5 separate regions of the Homo sapiens genome follow, and all the other regions are linked to region 1. The links are contacts of gene promoters, found by promoter capture Hi-C in blood cells and fetal thymus (Javierre and others, 2016). All regions are on one chromosome and are shown on one strand. The core of a region is centred on a gene start or on the middle of the fragment in contact, and the rest is flanking DNA. Distances in the headings are between cores, read along the strand shown. Region 1 holds the start of SBF2 (SET binding factor 2). Region 2 holds the start of TMEM41B (transmembrane protein 41B). Region 3 has its middle 45 kb from the start of WEE1. Region 4 overlaps SWAP70 (switching B cell complex subunit SWAP70). Region 5 overlaps SWAP70 (switching B cell complex subunit SWAP70).

Region 1 (2,929 bases), core at 250-2,749:
AGTGGAATGCGCTGCCTCCCAAGGAAGTAAGATTACTTTTTACTGAAAGTGATCAAGTTGGATGATGAGCTCTCAGGGAAGTTACAGAGAGGATTGCTGCACGGGGTATGACTGAGGTTTTTTTTTTTTTGGTTTAATTATTTTCAGGATCAAACTATCTTCCCTCCACGTTTGCAAATTCAGCTGATTCAGTTTTACCATTAGCAACTGACATAGAGGTCCTGGAGTTAAAGTATTCCTTCAGTTTCAGTTCTAGTGCAGCCCAACCCTCCCAATTTGTAGATGAAACAAGTGTGGCAGAGAAAGGGGAAATAGTAAATTACAGCAGAGTAAATCTTCAGGAGCTGAGATGTCAACTCTCTCAGTTCAGAGTTGGAGCCATTGCGGCTTCCTGCTGGTCGTTGGGGAAAATCGCACATTTACTCATTTAAAATATTTTGTAGGCACCTACTATATACTAGACGCTTTGCTAAGAGGCCTTGTCTTATGTGTAAATATGAAGGATCAAACCCTCAATTAATAGTGAGCAGTGATAAGCAACCACAAAGACAACTTCTAAACCACGGAGATTTCCAAAACTTTGGTCTACCACTTGTACAAATTCTACTAAAACTTCGTGAGATATTAACAAATGACAAAGTGAGTTCACCTGAATGTCACACCAGCCAAATTCGAAATGGTCAATAGGAGGTTCAACAAAAAAGCAAGCGACTTTGATAATCCCGAGACGGAAGGACGGGACCATCTATTCATTTTTGTGCATGTTTGAGCAGGGAAGTTGGAAGTCCACCTGCTCGGGCTGCGAGAGCCCTGGGACCGCTGCGAGGGAAGCAAGCCGAGGCGTGCGGGGCTCCCCAGGGAGAGGCCAGCCCAGTTCGGGAGGATCCCGGGGATGCCGCGTTCCTCGGTGGAATCTGGCTCTCCCGGGCGCTCCGGGGGAAGCCCAGGCCGACCGCCCCCGGCCCACCCGGCATTGAAACCCGAGGCTCCTTGGAGGATTGCGTAAAAGCCTCTCCCTCCCCCGTCTGCTCGGTGGCATGTTTCTAAAATTCCCATCTACACAACATAAACAGGAAACGTGCAGCAAAAGCCCTGTCGATGCAAATTCCTTGCTTCCAACCGAGGGCGGGAGAATTTCATCTTTGGTGGTGGTGGGGAGCAGAGGAAGCAGCCAGCTTTCCAAGTGACCCCTCAACTCTCCACATCCCTTCTTCCAAATCCAAACAGAATAGAGAAGGCGGAAGGAAGGACCCCCTGCTTTAGGAAAAATAGGGAGGCAGAGGGGGCCGTGAAGCAGCATCCAGGCCTCAAAGTGAACCACCTCCAGGGGCCGCGGTGGCGGCGCGTGGCGGGAACACGCCCGACCGCCCACTCCCCCAGCGCAGCAGTCCGCGAGGCCCGCGGAGGGTGGAGGTGGGCTCGCCGCCCGGGCTTGGGGCAGCCGAGCCAGCGCGGGTGGGGGCGGGGGAGGAGCGGGCACTAGGCGCCGCGCAAGCGCAGAGCGCGCCTCGGTTGTCAAACATGGCTGAAGCGCTGCCGCTGCCGCTACTGCCGCTGCAGGGAAAATGCTGAGCCCTCCCGGGCCGGGTGGGCGGCGGCGGCGAGGGCGGCGACGGGGACCCGCTTCCCGAGCGCGGCGGCGGCGGCCATGGCCCGGCTGGCTGACTACTTCATCGTGGTAGGCTATGACCACGAGAAGCCAGGTAAGGGTGTGGGGCGGCACCGCCCCCGGGCCTCCCCGCCCCCCGGCCGCTGTCCAGTGGGCTCCGCGGGGCCGGGCGTCGGGGACGGGCGTCGGGGAGGGCCAGGCCGAGTCTCGGAGGAGCGGGCGGTCGGCGTCCGGCCTTCTCGGCTGGGCTGAGCCTGGCGGTGGGCGTGGGGGGGCCGGCACGACGGTAGGGGGAGGGAAGACGCCGCGTCTGCCCAGCCCCTGGGCGCACCCGCTGGGCGGGCCGGAGGCGAGTTGGGGTCTCGCGACCCTCCCGCTGGAGGCTGCAGGGTACCCGGGGCAGAGAGAGCCCTGAGATTGGGCCCAGGACCGCAAGGCTGGGAGGGCGGGAGCCAACTGTGCTAAGTTCCTCGGGGATAAACTTCTGCCCTGCATCCTGAGTGAGTAACCAGTGACGCAGGGGGTTGTCCTCTCCGAAAGGAAGTGCTGAGAGTCCAGTGCTAACTCACCCCTGTGCTGTTGGGGGCCTAGTGACCTCCCCAAGGAACGCGTGGTACCAGGGAAGGGGACAGGATTCTTTGCACTTTTACCCCTTTCTAGGAAATGCTCCCTATTCTTTCAGGACAAATGTGACGGTCACTTCACAGTGACATGACTTGTCTTTTAACTAAGGACAGCCAGCTGACCGCTGAAGGTGATCTTGTTTCACTTTAATGTGTTTTCATTGTTCTTTTTATTTGTCACAGAATTTTCGTCGTAAGGAACAATTGGGCAAATGCATTGTATTTTACACTTTAATTGACGGACTTCCACAACTTAAGAGAATTCAGGGTTCATGCACGTTTATTTCTGTATTTGTATTCTCTTGTATTACTATGTAGCTAAGCATAATGTAATAACAAATTGAGCTGGGAAACCACTTCTATTTTAGGGCAATTCTAGTCCCACATTTGCAAGGAATTTGAGATATCAGCTCTACAGCCCCTTCATTTTTCAGAGATGCTGAGATTGTGTTTTCCTGATGGTTACAGCCATTGGTAGCTCAGAATACCATTGTTCTACCCACTCTTGGTCCACTCTCTCTTTCATTATTCCTCTCCTAAGAACTTCCTCTCCTTTAGTGGGAACCTTTCATGTTCTTTTCTCTTTCACCAGTCATGACCTGATTGAGGTCAATTGTTAAAGAGAAAGTTTAAATGTTTAAACTTCTGGATCCAAAATTTTATTTCCTAGTAATTTGGCATAGTCTGATGTTTCTTT
Region 2 (2,929 bases), core at 170-2,669, 980 kb after region 1:
AGTCCAGAAGTTCAGATCCAGCCTGGACAATATAGTGAGATTCCCATCACTTAAAAAAACAAAAAACAAAAAGACAAAGCCCCTGCCTTAAAGCTTATATTCTAAAGGTGGAGGCAGACAATAAACAAGTAAACAAATAGTTCACAGAATTAATTGCTTTTAATGACTATGAAGGAAATAAAATGGGAGCCAGAAGTAGGCAAAGGATGTGTACATAAAACAGTTCAATTGAATGGGTTTCCCATAATTTACTTAACCATTTTTATTTAGTGTTGGATTTTTATATTGCTTTTAGTTTTTCACTGTTATACTAATACAGAGGAATTATTTATGTTTATTTTCATGGAATAATTTCCTACAAATGTAATTACTGAATAGAAACAATCAGGATTTTTTTTTTTTTTTTTTGGGACGGAGTCTTGCTTTGTGGTCTATGCTGGAGTGCAGCGGTGCAATTTCTCACCGCAACCTCAGCCTCCGGGGTTCAAGCGATTCTCCTGACTCACACTCTCGAGTAGCTGGGATTACAAGCCATCATGTCCAGCTCATTTTTGTATTTTTAGCAGAGACGGGGTCTCATCTCACCATTTTGGCCAGTCTGGCCTCACACTCCTGGTCTCAAATGATCCGCCCGCCTTGGCCTCCCAAAGTGTTGGGATTACAGGCTTGAGCCACCGCGACCGGCCTCTAAGTTGCTTTCAAGAGGTAACCACGGTGAGTAAGCTGAATGTGCTCTGAGGGGTAGAAGCAGAAAAAGTTACCTGTGGAAAAGGCATGTTTCCGCTTAGCTTAGGGATAAGCTAAATGTAGAGCTGACTTGGGTTTAGTAGTAAGGGGCAGCAGCTAATGCAAAACCGTTAGCTTTGGGAACAGGACAACCTGGATTCTAAGCCCATTTTTGCCATCCTGTGATCTTCACAGGTTGTACGTAGCCCTCTCTGAGCCTTAGTTTCCTGAAATTCAGGTAGGTTTTGCTCAACCTTTGTATTTCCCACCATCTTTTAGATCAAGCACTCTCTGGCGCCTCCAAATTGAAGACAGCAGCTGCGGAATTGATGTAATGGGCTGAATCAGCCTCAGCCGCGAAATGCCGACTAATCACAGGCACCTCCGGCGGCCTGGACAAAAGGTTTGAAGTCCCTGGGACCGCACTTCCGGGTAATTAAGGCTACGCTTTAGACGCCAGGGCCAGCGAGTCGCAGCCGGGTGACTCGAGTGCCGCGACTGCGCATGCTCTCGCCCCAGCGCCCGGCGGCCACCTCTTTCCCGCGGGCGGGCCGGGGCGGGGCACTGAAGGGGGCGGTCCAGGACCCTGACTTGTCTCGCGGTTACTGGGCCGGCGCGAGCACGCGAGGCTCGGGGGCGGCACGGGGCGGGGTTTAGCCTGTGGTGGGCGCTGCGGGTGTTTGCAGGAGGTTGCAGTACTCGCTGGGCTGAGGTCGTCTCGGGTGAGGAGGTCGCGCCGGAAGTGGCTCTAGCCGTGGCGCTTCGGCGTAGTAAGGAGCCTGCAACAGAGTTTTGTTGTTTAGGGGGCGCGGCACCGCACCGCTCCCTTCACCTTGCAGCAGCCATGGCGAAAGGCAGAGTCGCCGAACGATCGCAGTTGGGCGCTCACCACACGACCCCCGTGGGGGACGGGGCAGCGGGGACGCGGGGTCTCGCGGCGCCTGGCAGCAGAGACCACCAGAAGGGTGAGTGGGCCCGGGGAGCAGAGCTGGGGGTGGCCCGAGGCTTCTGTGTGTCGGGTGGGGAAAAGGACCCCCGCTATTCTCGGAGAGTCGCGGGGAAAGAGGGGGGCCTGCTGGCGCCGCGGCGGGAGCAGAGACCGTGGGGGAGTTGGGCTTGGGCGCTCGCGCAGCACAAGGCCGGACGCCGAGTAGGTGCGTTGTAAATGCTGTTTGAGTAGAATTCATTTAAAAGAAGGGATGACACTGGCTTGTTGACGCTCAGGTAGATTGTAAGGTTGATGATAACGACGCTAGGCAGAGCTGGAAGGAGCTGTACTGTGGCATTCGCTGCGTTGTTTTTACAGATGAAGAAACTGAGGCCCAGTGTGGGTATATGACTTATAAAGTCATAAAGCCAGATCAGTGAAGTAGTAGTTAGGAGCGAGGACTTAATACTTCCAGGTGGCAGTACACCTGGGCTTGAGTCCCTGCCCTACTGTTTACTTGGAACCTTGGACTTGGTAACTTTCAAAAAAAGCTCAGTGTCTGAACTGTGAAATGGGGATAATAATAATATCTACTTAATAGGTGGTGCGTGGGTTAAACGAAATAATTCACGTAAAAGATTTAGAGCAATGCTTGGATATGAAGTGGGGGCTAAATAAATATTAGCAATTACTTAGTTACAGCTAAGGTCACTCATTCTAAAGTTTATTTCCCCACTACATCATCCTGACATTTCTCACGGCTTTATTTTTGGTTTTTGTTTTCTCTTTATTCCTACTGCCTCTATAATTGCAGAATCTCACGGCTTTAAATATTGTTTTAAGGAAAAAACTGTACGTAGAAACTAAATACTTTGATTCCGTGTTGGCCTGGAATCGTTCTTTAAATGATTTTAAAGCTCATAAACTTAAAGTGATCCTAACAAGTTTGTCTGTAGCTCACATAGGTGTGTTCCACCACCAGTGATGGCTAGGAGAACTTCTAAGAGTATGTAGTAGAAAATGTTAATGTATTTTCAAATAATTTAAAATGTCTCCAACAGTCTAATTTGGCTCTGTCAGCCTTATGTTTTTGGGTATTTTTCCAGCTTATATACACTGGATCCAGGTGACTTCATATAATTTCAAAAACTGAGAAATGAATCGTTGTTAATGTATAAATCAGCTCTGAATAAAAGAAAGATTGTTTTGAAGACTCTACTACTGAGGGTGACAATATTCCAAGGTCTGGGTTTCCTGAAAAAGTGTTCCAGATAG
Region 3 (2,929 bases), core at 255-2,754, 680 kb after region 1:
GGAGAGGAGTCAAAAGGTGAGGAAGCCTAACTCCTGGGTCACCCTGGGTCTAAATCTGGATCTGTGCCTGCCCTGAAGGCCTAACTCAATGTGCTCAGCTGCAGGTACACTCACACCCTGAGGGTAGTAAGGAATAACACTGCCCCACTCTTTGTGTTTCCAGATGCCTCTGAGACCCAGGGCCCAGAGAACTTCTGTGCATAGACCCTGCAGGCAGATTCCCCTTCTGGGGCTCTACTAACTCTGGTACCCATATATTTCAGTCCTTTCAGGGACTTGCATGTTTGAAAAACCTGCTGGTTAACCTGGATGAATCTCTATTTGGTGTAACTGGTAGCTCTTCCCCACATTCCTTCCACCCACCAGCATGTCCCACCCCAGGAATTGACTGGCCTCAGAGAGTTCACAGGGGATGAGGAAGGGAAGGTTGAGCATGGTCTCAGTTGCACAGCTGCCCCACACAGCTGCTTGGAAAGCTTTGGTCTTCTGATCCCGCTTTTGTGCCCTTCTTGACCCGAGGCAGGTCCAGAGCCCCTGGGCAATAAAAGGACAGTATTTACTGGAGGAGCACCAGCCAGTTCACTTCATTCATCCCACCTTGAGATATTTGGCTGCTCCTGCAACATATTGGTAGCTCCGTGAGAGTGAGACAAATGTCCTGCTCAAAGATTATAACACTTGTGTGCTTCGCCTTTTTTTTTTTTTTTTTGTCTCGCTCTGTCGCCCAGGCTGGAGTGCAGTAGCGTGATCTCAGCTCACTGCAGCCTCCACCTCCTGAGTTCAAGCAATTCTTCTGCCTCAGCCTTCTGAGTAGCTGGGATTACAGTTGCACGCCACCATGCCTGGCTAATTTTTGTATTTTAGTAGATATGGGGTTTCATCATGTTGGCCAGGCTGGTCTCAAACTCCTAACCTCAGGTGATCCACCTGTGTCAGCCTCCCAAAGTGCTGAGATTACAGGTGTGAGCCACTGCACCTGGCTGGGTGCTTCATCTTTTGAGTTAAAGGTCTGTCTGGACATAGTACTGATATTCCCAGTGTCTTCCATGCTGAAAGTGCAGAGAAGGCATTTGATGAATGATTAACTGAATGAATGAATGAACAAATGACTACATGGTTTCTCTAACTTCCTGTTTTTTAAGACTGTCACTGCAGTGTGTTTTAAAATATGCTTTCATTCCCTGCCTTGGTCCAGGCCCTTGCAATTTTTTGCCTGTGCCCTTCACCCAGTCCAGAAGAAGTCTCAGCAAAATCTTAGGAAGGTAATGAATGAGACAAGGGGCTAGCGGAGAGAAGAGCATTGTAAGCAGAGGAAAGAGGCAGGAGTGTGTCTGGCATGGTTGAGGAACAACAAGGAAAGCTATGTTGCTGGGGCCAATTGAGTGATGGAGAGAACAGTAGGATGTAGGGTCATAGGTAGAGGCTCTGGGTCAGATTGGGAAGGCCATTATAAGATCTTTGTCTTTTTTTTTTTTTTTTTTTTTTTTGAGACAGAGTCTCACTCTTTCACCAGGCTGGAGTGCAGTGGTGCAATCTCGGCTCACTGCAACCTCCACCTCCCAGGTTCAAGCAATTCCCCTGCCTCAGCCTCCCAAGTAGCTGGGACTACAGGTGCGCACCACCACACCTGGCTAATTTTTTGTATTTTAGTAGAGACAGAGTTTCACCATGTTGGCCAGGATGTTCTCGATCTCCTGACCTCATGATCCACCCACTTGGCCTCCCAAAGTGCTGGGATTACAGGCATGAGCCACTGTGCCCAGCCAGGACTTTGTCTTTTACTCTGAAACGGCAAGCTGTTTGGAGGGTTTTGAGCAGAGGAGGGACGTGATCTGACAGGTTTTTTTAAAATCCCTCTGTTGAGAACAGAGTGGTCGGGGATGGGGAAGGCCAGTTGCAGAAGCAGAGAAATTGTTAGGAGTAAGCCAGGCAAGAAACAACCAATGGCAGCTCTGATCTGGATGGTAGCAATGAAGGTGGTAAGAAGCGTTTGGATTCTGAATATATTTTCAAGGCAGAGCCAAGAGAACCTCCTAACCAATTAAATGTGGGAGATAAGAGAAAAAGTAAAGTCACTCCAGGATTTTGTCTGAGCAATGAAAGAATGGTGACATCATTAACTGAGATGGGCGAGGCTACGGGTGGAATTGTTTAGGGGAGTTAAGATCAGATGTTGTTTTGGATGTTTTGAGCTTGAGTTGTCTTTTAGACATCCAAGTAGTGATGTCAAGTAGACAGCCGGATAAATGATTGGGAGAGAAGTCTGGGCTGGATCTCATGCCATTTCATGCTTTAAATATATCCTCACTCATGTCTCCAAAATCAGCTCTGACTTCTCCCGTAAACTTCAAGTTCTTATATTTCACTGCCTACTTGACTTATTCGCTTAGCTTTCTAACAGGCATCTCAAATTTAATATGTTCAAAACTAAATTCCTAATTCCCCATCTCCCTACACAGAACACAAGCAAATGAACAAACAACAACAAAACTCAGAAAACACAATAGCAGTTCCATTCTTCCTAAAGCTTGATGTCATCTTTGACTCTTCCCTTTCTGACTTCTAAACCATCAACAAATCCTATTAAAACCGTCCCCAGGGCGCTGTGGCTCACGTCTGTAATCCCAGCACTTTAGGAGGCTGAGGTGGGTGGATCACCAGCGGTCAGGAGTTCGAGACCAACCTGGCCAACATGGTGAAACCCCGTCTACTAAAAAGACAAAAATTAGGGCCACGCATGGTGGCTCACACCTGTAATCCCAGCACTTGGGGAGGCCAAGATTGGCAGATCACCTGAGGTCAGGAGTTAGAGACCAGCCTGACCAACCAAGAGAAACCCCATCTCTACTAAAAATACAAAATTAGCCAGGCGTGGTGGCACATGCCTGTAATCCCAGCTACTCAGGAGGCTGAGACAGGAGAATCGCTT
Region 4 (2,929 bases), core at 158-2,657, 620 kb after region 1:
AAATATTATGCCATTTTATATAAGAGTCTTGAGCATCCTACGATTTTGGTATCTGCAGGGAGTCCTGGAACCAATCCCCCAAGGATACCAAGGGACAAACTGTACAAACAAAAGAAGAGCACCAAAACCAAACCAAGGGGGAAAAATGGTGGAAAAAATGTCTAACGTTGAATTCAACTACATTTACTCAGCTACCTATGTGCACCTAGCACCTTCCTATAAAGAAAACCCCTTTCCATCTCTCTCAATACAGTTTTCAGTCTACCATCAGTTAACACAGAATATACTAAAATTGCAATCAAAACAGATAATACAGTCTTAAACTATACGGTTTGTTCTAAGAAAGGACTATTCATGAATACAAGTTTAAAAGCAAGTAGAAAATGTGTTTCTGGAAGTCTGTTTCCCCACTATTAGCCTATTGCTATCTACTTCAGCTGCTGAAAAGCAAGTAAATCTTTGCTTAAGAAAAAGCTCAAAACAATCACTTAGTGTTCCTGGTTAGTTCAGCCTGAAAAACCAAGTAACACCAAATCAACATGACAATCAGTTGTATTTAACAATCCAATTGCAAATCAAGTTAACAGAGCTGATGACTTCTATGAACGTGCACAGGATGGGTGCAGAGATAAAGGCCTACGTACTCTCAACTCAGGTGGGGAGCCAGTCAAGTTACAACTGGAGCCAGAGAGACAGAGCTCCCCGGTAGAAGGTGCACAGATTGCCAGGAAGATGCCCAGTGAGATTACAGGGAATGCAGGAGAAGGAAGGAGAAAAAAAATCAAGGTAAGGAAAGGGAAGCAGACAGAAGTGGTTCCCTTTTTGGGGAGAGGGGTGGTGTGCGGAGGAGGGCTTAAAGATTCGAGAAAACCTACTGACCTGCAATGACCTTATTTATGGCTATAAATATATATAATATATATAAAATATAAAACAGTTGTTTTAACAAGAAAACATTACTGTGACTAGACAACCAGCAAACATCTGTTTCTATTGTAGTTTATGTAAGCCATAAGAGGTCTTTCTCCCTTTCTCCCTTTCCCTCCCTCTGTCCCTCCCTCCTCCCTCCTCTCTCTCTCTCTCTCTCTCTCTCTCTCTCTCTCTCTCTCTCTCTCTCTCTCTCTCTCTCTCTCTCTCTCTCTCGCTCCCTCTCTCTCTCTCTCTCTCTCGCTCCCTCTCTGTTTCTTTCTTTCTTTTTCTTTGGATACAGGGTCTCACTCTGTTTCCCAGGCTGGAGTGCAGTGGCACAATCATAGCTCACTCCAGCCTCCATCTCCTGAGTTCAGGCCATCTCCTGTCTCAGCTACAGAAGGAACTTGGACTACAGGCGTGTGCCACCATACCTCTCTAACTTTTTAAATTTCTTGTCTTACTATGTTGCAAAGGCTGGTCTCAAACTCCTGGGTTCAAGTGATCCATTTGCCTCAATCTCCAAAAGTGCTAGTATTACAGGCATGAGCCACTGCACCTGGCCTAGGAGTGGCTTCTATTTTTTAAATTTAAAATTTTTTTTTTTTTTTTGAGACGGAGTCTCGCTCTGTCGCCCAGGCTGGAGGGCAGTGGCATAATCTCCGCTCACTGCAAGCTCTGCCTCCCGGGTTCACACCATTCTCCTGCCTCAGCCTCCCGAGTAGCTGGGACTACAGCCGCCCGCCACCACGCCCAGCTAATTTCTTTTTTTGTATTTTTGGTAGAGAAGGGGTTTCACCGTGTTAGCCAGGATGGTCTCCATCTCCTGACCTCGTGATCCGCCCACCTCGGCCTCCCAAAGTGCTGGGATTACAGGCATGAGCCACCGCACCCAGCCTATTTATTTATTTTTGAGACAAAGTCTTGCTCTGTCACCCAGGCTGCAATACAGTGGCACTATCTCAGCTCACTGAAACCTCCTCCTCCTGAGTAGCTGGGACCACAGGTGCCCACCACCATGTCCAGCTAATTTTTAAATTTTTTGTAGAGATAAAGTCTCACTATATTTTCCAGGCTGTTTTCAAACTCCTGGCTTCAAGCAATCCTCCTGCCTCAGCTTTCCAAAGTTCTGGGATTATAGTCATGAGCCACTGCACCCAGCTTCCCAAGGGTTTTTTTTAAATCTGTGTTCTATAGTTCGATTTTATTGATAAGTTTGACAAAAGTCTGTCTGCAACATGTGATATTATGAGACAGAGATATACATAGATAAATATATATAGGTTTTCATCCATGGTCCCTGGCTCATAACGCCATAGCCCTTGTTATAATGTTGGGGTGCTTTAGGCCTCAGAAGCAGGTCTCAGAAAACAGAATCTCAGCCAGGTGCAGTGGCTCACACCTGTAATCCCAGCACTTTGGGAGGCCGAGGTGGGCAGATCACTTGAGGTCAGGAGTTTGAGACCAGCCTGGCCAACACGGCGAAACTCGGTCTCTACTAAAAAATACAAAAATTAGCCGGGTATGGTGGCATACACCTGTAACCCCAGCTACTTGGGAGGCTGAGGTAGGAGAATCGCTTGAACCCAGGAGGCAGAGGTTGCAGTGAGCCAAGATCATGCCATTGCACTCCAGCCTGGGCGACAGAGCGGGATTCCATCTCAAACAAACAAACAAACAAACAAACAAATAAATCAATGAAAAAAGAAAACAAATCTCTCTCTCTCTCTCTGACCTTCTGCCCTTTTTTCGCCTGCTCCTTTTTCTCCCCAAGGCAGGCCGTAGAAACTAAAAATATAATCTCATCTCCCCCAACCTTTCTATCTTGGAGCTGGCCATAAAGAAATTCTCTGACCTTCCTTGTCTAATTGAAGGCCACAAGACCTTCATTTCAGAAGGGGTCCTCCCCCATACCCTGGAGGAAGGAAAGCTACACAGAGAGACCAAGAAGAATCTGAACAGACAATCCTTGCTGGATTTTCCCACTCAGTCTATTAATATTAGATCATACCCTTTTTTG
Region 5 (2,929 bases), core at 271-2,770, 600 kb after region 1:
AGGCATGTAGCCCTGGTTGGACACTGGACCCTCATCATCATCCCTGAAGTGCTCTTCAAGGGCAACTGGGTCATGAGGAACCTTCAGCACCGTGCACAGGTTATGGGAAAGGACCTGCAAGGGAAAAGAAAATCGTTTAAAGACTCCCACTAACCAGCACATGACACCTTCACCATGAGTACAACATGCTGCTCCCTCTCCTGGGTAGAGAAAGATGGAAAATAAACTAGCAAAAACAGGGTGAGGACTGCTCAGCTGCAAGCCCCTACTTGTAACCTGTTATTCTTTCTCATTCCTTCCCAGGTTTGGTTCACTTAGAACTAGTCTCTATTACATGCCTACTATGAGCCAGGCTCCATGCAAGATCTGTGAATATAATACTCCTGTGGTCTTTTACTAATTTGTCCACATCAGAAAGAAAAGTGGGGTGGGGGGGGAAGTCTAAGAGAATGTGTTCAAAATTAAACTTTTCACCAAGTAGAGCAGAGTCAGCCAATTAGAGCTGTTCAGAGAAAGAACCTGGTATTATTGGGAGGCTGCAGCCAGGGGTTCTGGACAAGGAGGCTGACCTGGGCAAGTCACAACCTCTCCAGGCTTTAGTTTTCTCATTTATTCAATAGAAAGGGCCAAATTAATATACCAAATATTAATTAGGAATCTCTAAGTATCTAAACATTTCTAAAATTCTATGACTAGGCTAAATTTCAGCATGAGTATAAAAGAATATAAATATAAAAAGAGAAAGAAATCAAGGGCCTGGATTAGATTCAGGAAAAAATTAAATAGCAAAAATAGGAGTCGCCAACATGGTTAAAAATATTTTACAGAAAACCTGCATTCCATAGCATAAATACATATAAAGGGCTACTGGTCTTGCAATAACCTAAGTTCACACTTCAAAGTCCAGGTACAGTAGTTAAATGAGCAGTGTGGGCTACCTTAGTATTAATCTTGTTTTACATTAAATGAAAATTTCAAGATAGAACTTAAATCCCTTCCATTTCATTTGTGCTTTCTGAACAGGTCAAATTACATAGCTAAGGCTGTATTTTCTTCAACAGAGAATCTTCCTAGTTGAACCCCAGGTAAAAACGTTCCTTATTTTTCTCAGCCCTAAACATTTAACCTTAAGGAGCCACATTCATCTCAATAAATACTTTCATTTGCATTAAGCGAGTCCCTTTTTCTGCATACACATATTTCAGTTAGGAGTTTTTTTAAGATTAAACATTTTTAATCTATAAAATAATTTGCATATCTTCTTTCTAAATTTGTTTTGTTTCTCAAAGCTTCATTTATGTGGAGATCCTTTTCTACATGCTCTACTGGTTTTAAGGAAGTAAGTTAAGGAAGTAAATTCACAAATGGTTATAAATGCAGTAATGAAGACTACAAAGCAGGCTGTGTTTCTCAAGCAAACCCTGTGTTTGCCAGTAAAGCACATGAAAAGAGTACGGTGGAGCTTTTATTGGAGAATCCTGCACCACAATCAGCAAAATTTTAAAAAGATATTTAATTTATATTAGCCTAGTAAATCCTATATACTAAAGATCAATTTCAAGAATATAAAGAGCTTAATAACTGTAAAATGCTATGGAAATACAAGTATTAAAGAAATGCACACTTCTCAGATCAGGTTCAAATGTCATTCAAATTTTAAAATCATTTGGAACTTTACCCAAGTTAACAATTCCCAACTACTGGTTAAATTAAGGTATATCCATAAAACATAAAAACCATGAGAAAGCTTGCTATGTACGGATATGAAAAGATCTCCAACATAAATTAAGTGAAAAAAACAAGGTACCTAAGAATATGTATGCCATCTTTTGTATAAAAAAGAAAAGGGAGGAAGAAAAGAAATTCTGGAGGGATATATAAGAAACTAGTAACTGTGAAAGGAAGACAAGTTTGATGAGACCAAGGTTAGAAAAAGACTTCACTGTAGCTCTTCTTTGTATTAAGTTTTTTTAAAAAAAATTAACCTACTCAAAAATGTAGTACATATTTTTAAAATTAAATATATATATATATATATATATTTTAAGTGGCCAGCCTAAGATCACATAGATCAATCTATTTATCTTCATAGCCTATACTTTTTCTTCTACATTAACCTGCTGACTAGAAATGAGGTGTAAAAGGAAGACATATTCCACAGCAATGTACCATGACTAATGGATGAGTGAGCTGTAAGGGCAATAAATGAGTTCAGAAAAGGAGAAATAGTATGTGTTACAGTGACTTCACAGAGGAAGTAAAATGTAACTTATGGCTTACAGGATAGGTAAGGATAGCTTTAGGATAGGAATAGAGGCAAATACAAAAATTTCCAGATAGGGGAATAACATGATAAAAGTAGCTGATTAATCCAAAGCCTTCAGGAAACAAAAAACACCATCTCTCCCATACCCACCCTGTTCTCTACCTTAGGGTTTCACAGATCCTCTAACTAAAGCCCTGGCAGGGGCCTTGGATGTCATATTGTCATCCTCATCTTATAAATGGTGACTACAGACTCACAGATATTAAATTTGTTTTTCTTGACTAAAGTTACTGAGAAGAACTGAGACTAGAACTCGGGTTTTGTAATCTCTGGTCCAGCACTCTCCAGTAATAAGAAACATTATGTCTTCAGTTGTCTAAAGTCAACAATGCTCTTTGTACATATAGATGCTTAGTTTGATTAAGTGATCCCACTGCAGAAGATATAGATTTGAACTCAAGATTTCAGCCTTCGACAATTAAACAGCACTCTTGTTAAACACAGGGATGGCTAAATTCAGTGATAATTTTCTTAACCATCTTTACTTAGGCAAACTGTGAGGAAGGCAGCACAGTATACAAGGCACCTGGAAGAGACCTGCGCTCCAATGTCTCTGCATCCTCACTGTCAAATGAGAGTTGGACTTGTTTGTAAAACCCTTAA

The links. The method cuts DNA at HindIII sites, captures the fragments that hold promoters and counts their contacts. A CHiCAGO score of 5 or more calls a contact.
Region 2: a contact is called between the fragment with the promoter of TMEM41B here and the fragment with the promoter of SBF2 in region 1, in 4 of 17 cell types (activated CD4 T cells, neutrophils, non-activated CD4 T cells and 1 more). The highest score is 8.2, in activated CD4 T cells.
Region 3: a contact is called between a fragment that was not itself captured here and the fragment with the promoter of SBF2 in region 1, in 1 of 17 cell types (activated CD4 T cells). The highest score is 5.6, in activated CD4 T cells.
Region 4: a fragment that was not itself captured here is called in contact with the fragment with the promoter of SBF2 in region 1 in 1 of 17 cell types (activated CD4 T cells); the score reaches 5.0 in activated CD4 T cells.
Region 5: a fragment that was not itself captured here is called in contact with the fragment with the promoter of SBF2 in region 1 in 2 of 17 cell types (M2 macrophages and total B cells); the score reaches 6.8 in M2 macrophages.

What each region holds. Positions count from the first base shown.
Region 1 is chr11:10,292,789-10,295,717 of GRCh38, reverse strand. SBF2 (SET binding factor 2) reads left to right here and starts at 1,499. Exons shown (of 40, transcript NM_030962.4): 1 at 1,499-1,703. The coding sequence starts at 1,649. RefSeq lists silencers at 1,362-1,411, 1,532-1,811, 1,842-1,921, 1,962-2,101. The HindIII fragment of the contact is 10,661 bases long and covers 1-2,929 here.
Region 2 is chr11:9,313,083-9,316,011 of GRCh38, reverse strand. TMEM41B (transmembrane protein 41B) reads left to right here and starts at 1,419. Exons shown (of 7, transcript NM_015012.4): 1 at 1,419-1,691. The coding sequence starts at 1,571. RefSeq lists a silencer at 1,080-1,429 and enhancers at 1,195-1,710, 1,711-2,228. The HindIII fragment of the contact is 4,694 bases long and covers 96-2,929 here.
Region 3 is chr11:9,617,407-9,620,335 of GRCh38, reverse strand. No RefSeq gene overlaps it. Among named protein-coding and RNA genes, the nearest start is that of WEE1, 45 kb to the right of the region's middle. The HindIII fragment of the contact is 2,051 bases long and covers 479-2,529 here.
Region 4 is chr11:9,673,561-9,676,489 of GRCh38, reverse strand. All of the region lies in intron 1 of SWAP70 (switching B cell complex subunit SWAP70), which reads right to left. Among named protein-coding and RNA genes, the nearest start is that of SWAP70, 11 kb to the right of the region's middle. RefSeq lists an enhancer at 150-684. The HindIII fragment of the contact is 4,593 bases long and covers 1-2,929 here.
Region 5 is chr11:9,691,331-9,694,259 of GRCh38, reverse strand. It overlaps SWAP70 (switching B cell complex subunit SWAP70), which reads right to left. Exons shown (of 12, transcript NM_015055.4): 2 at 1-114. Among named protein-coding and RNA genes, the nearest start is that of SWAP70, 29 kb to the right of the region's middle. The HindIII fragment of the contact is 458 bases long and covers 1,292-1,749 here.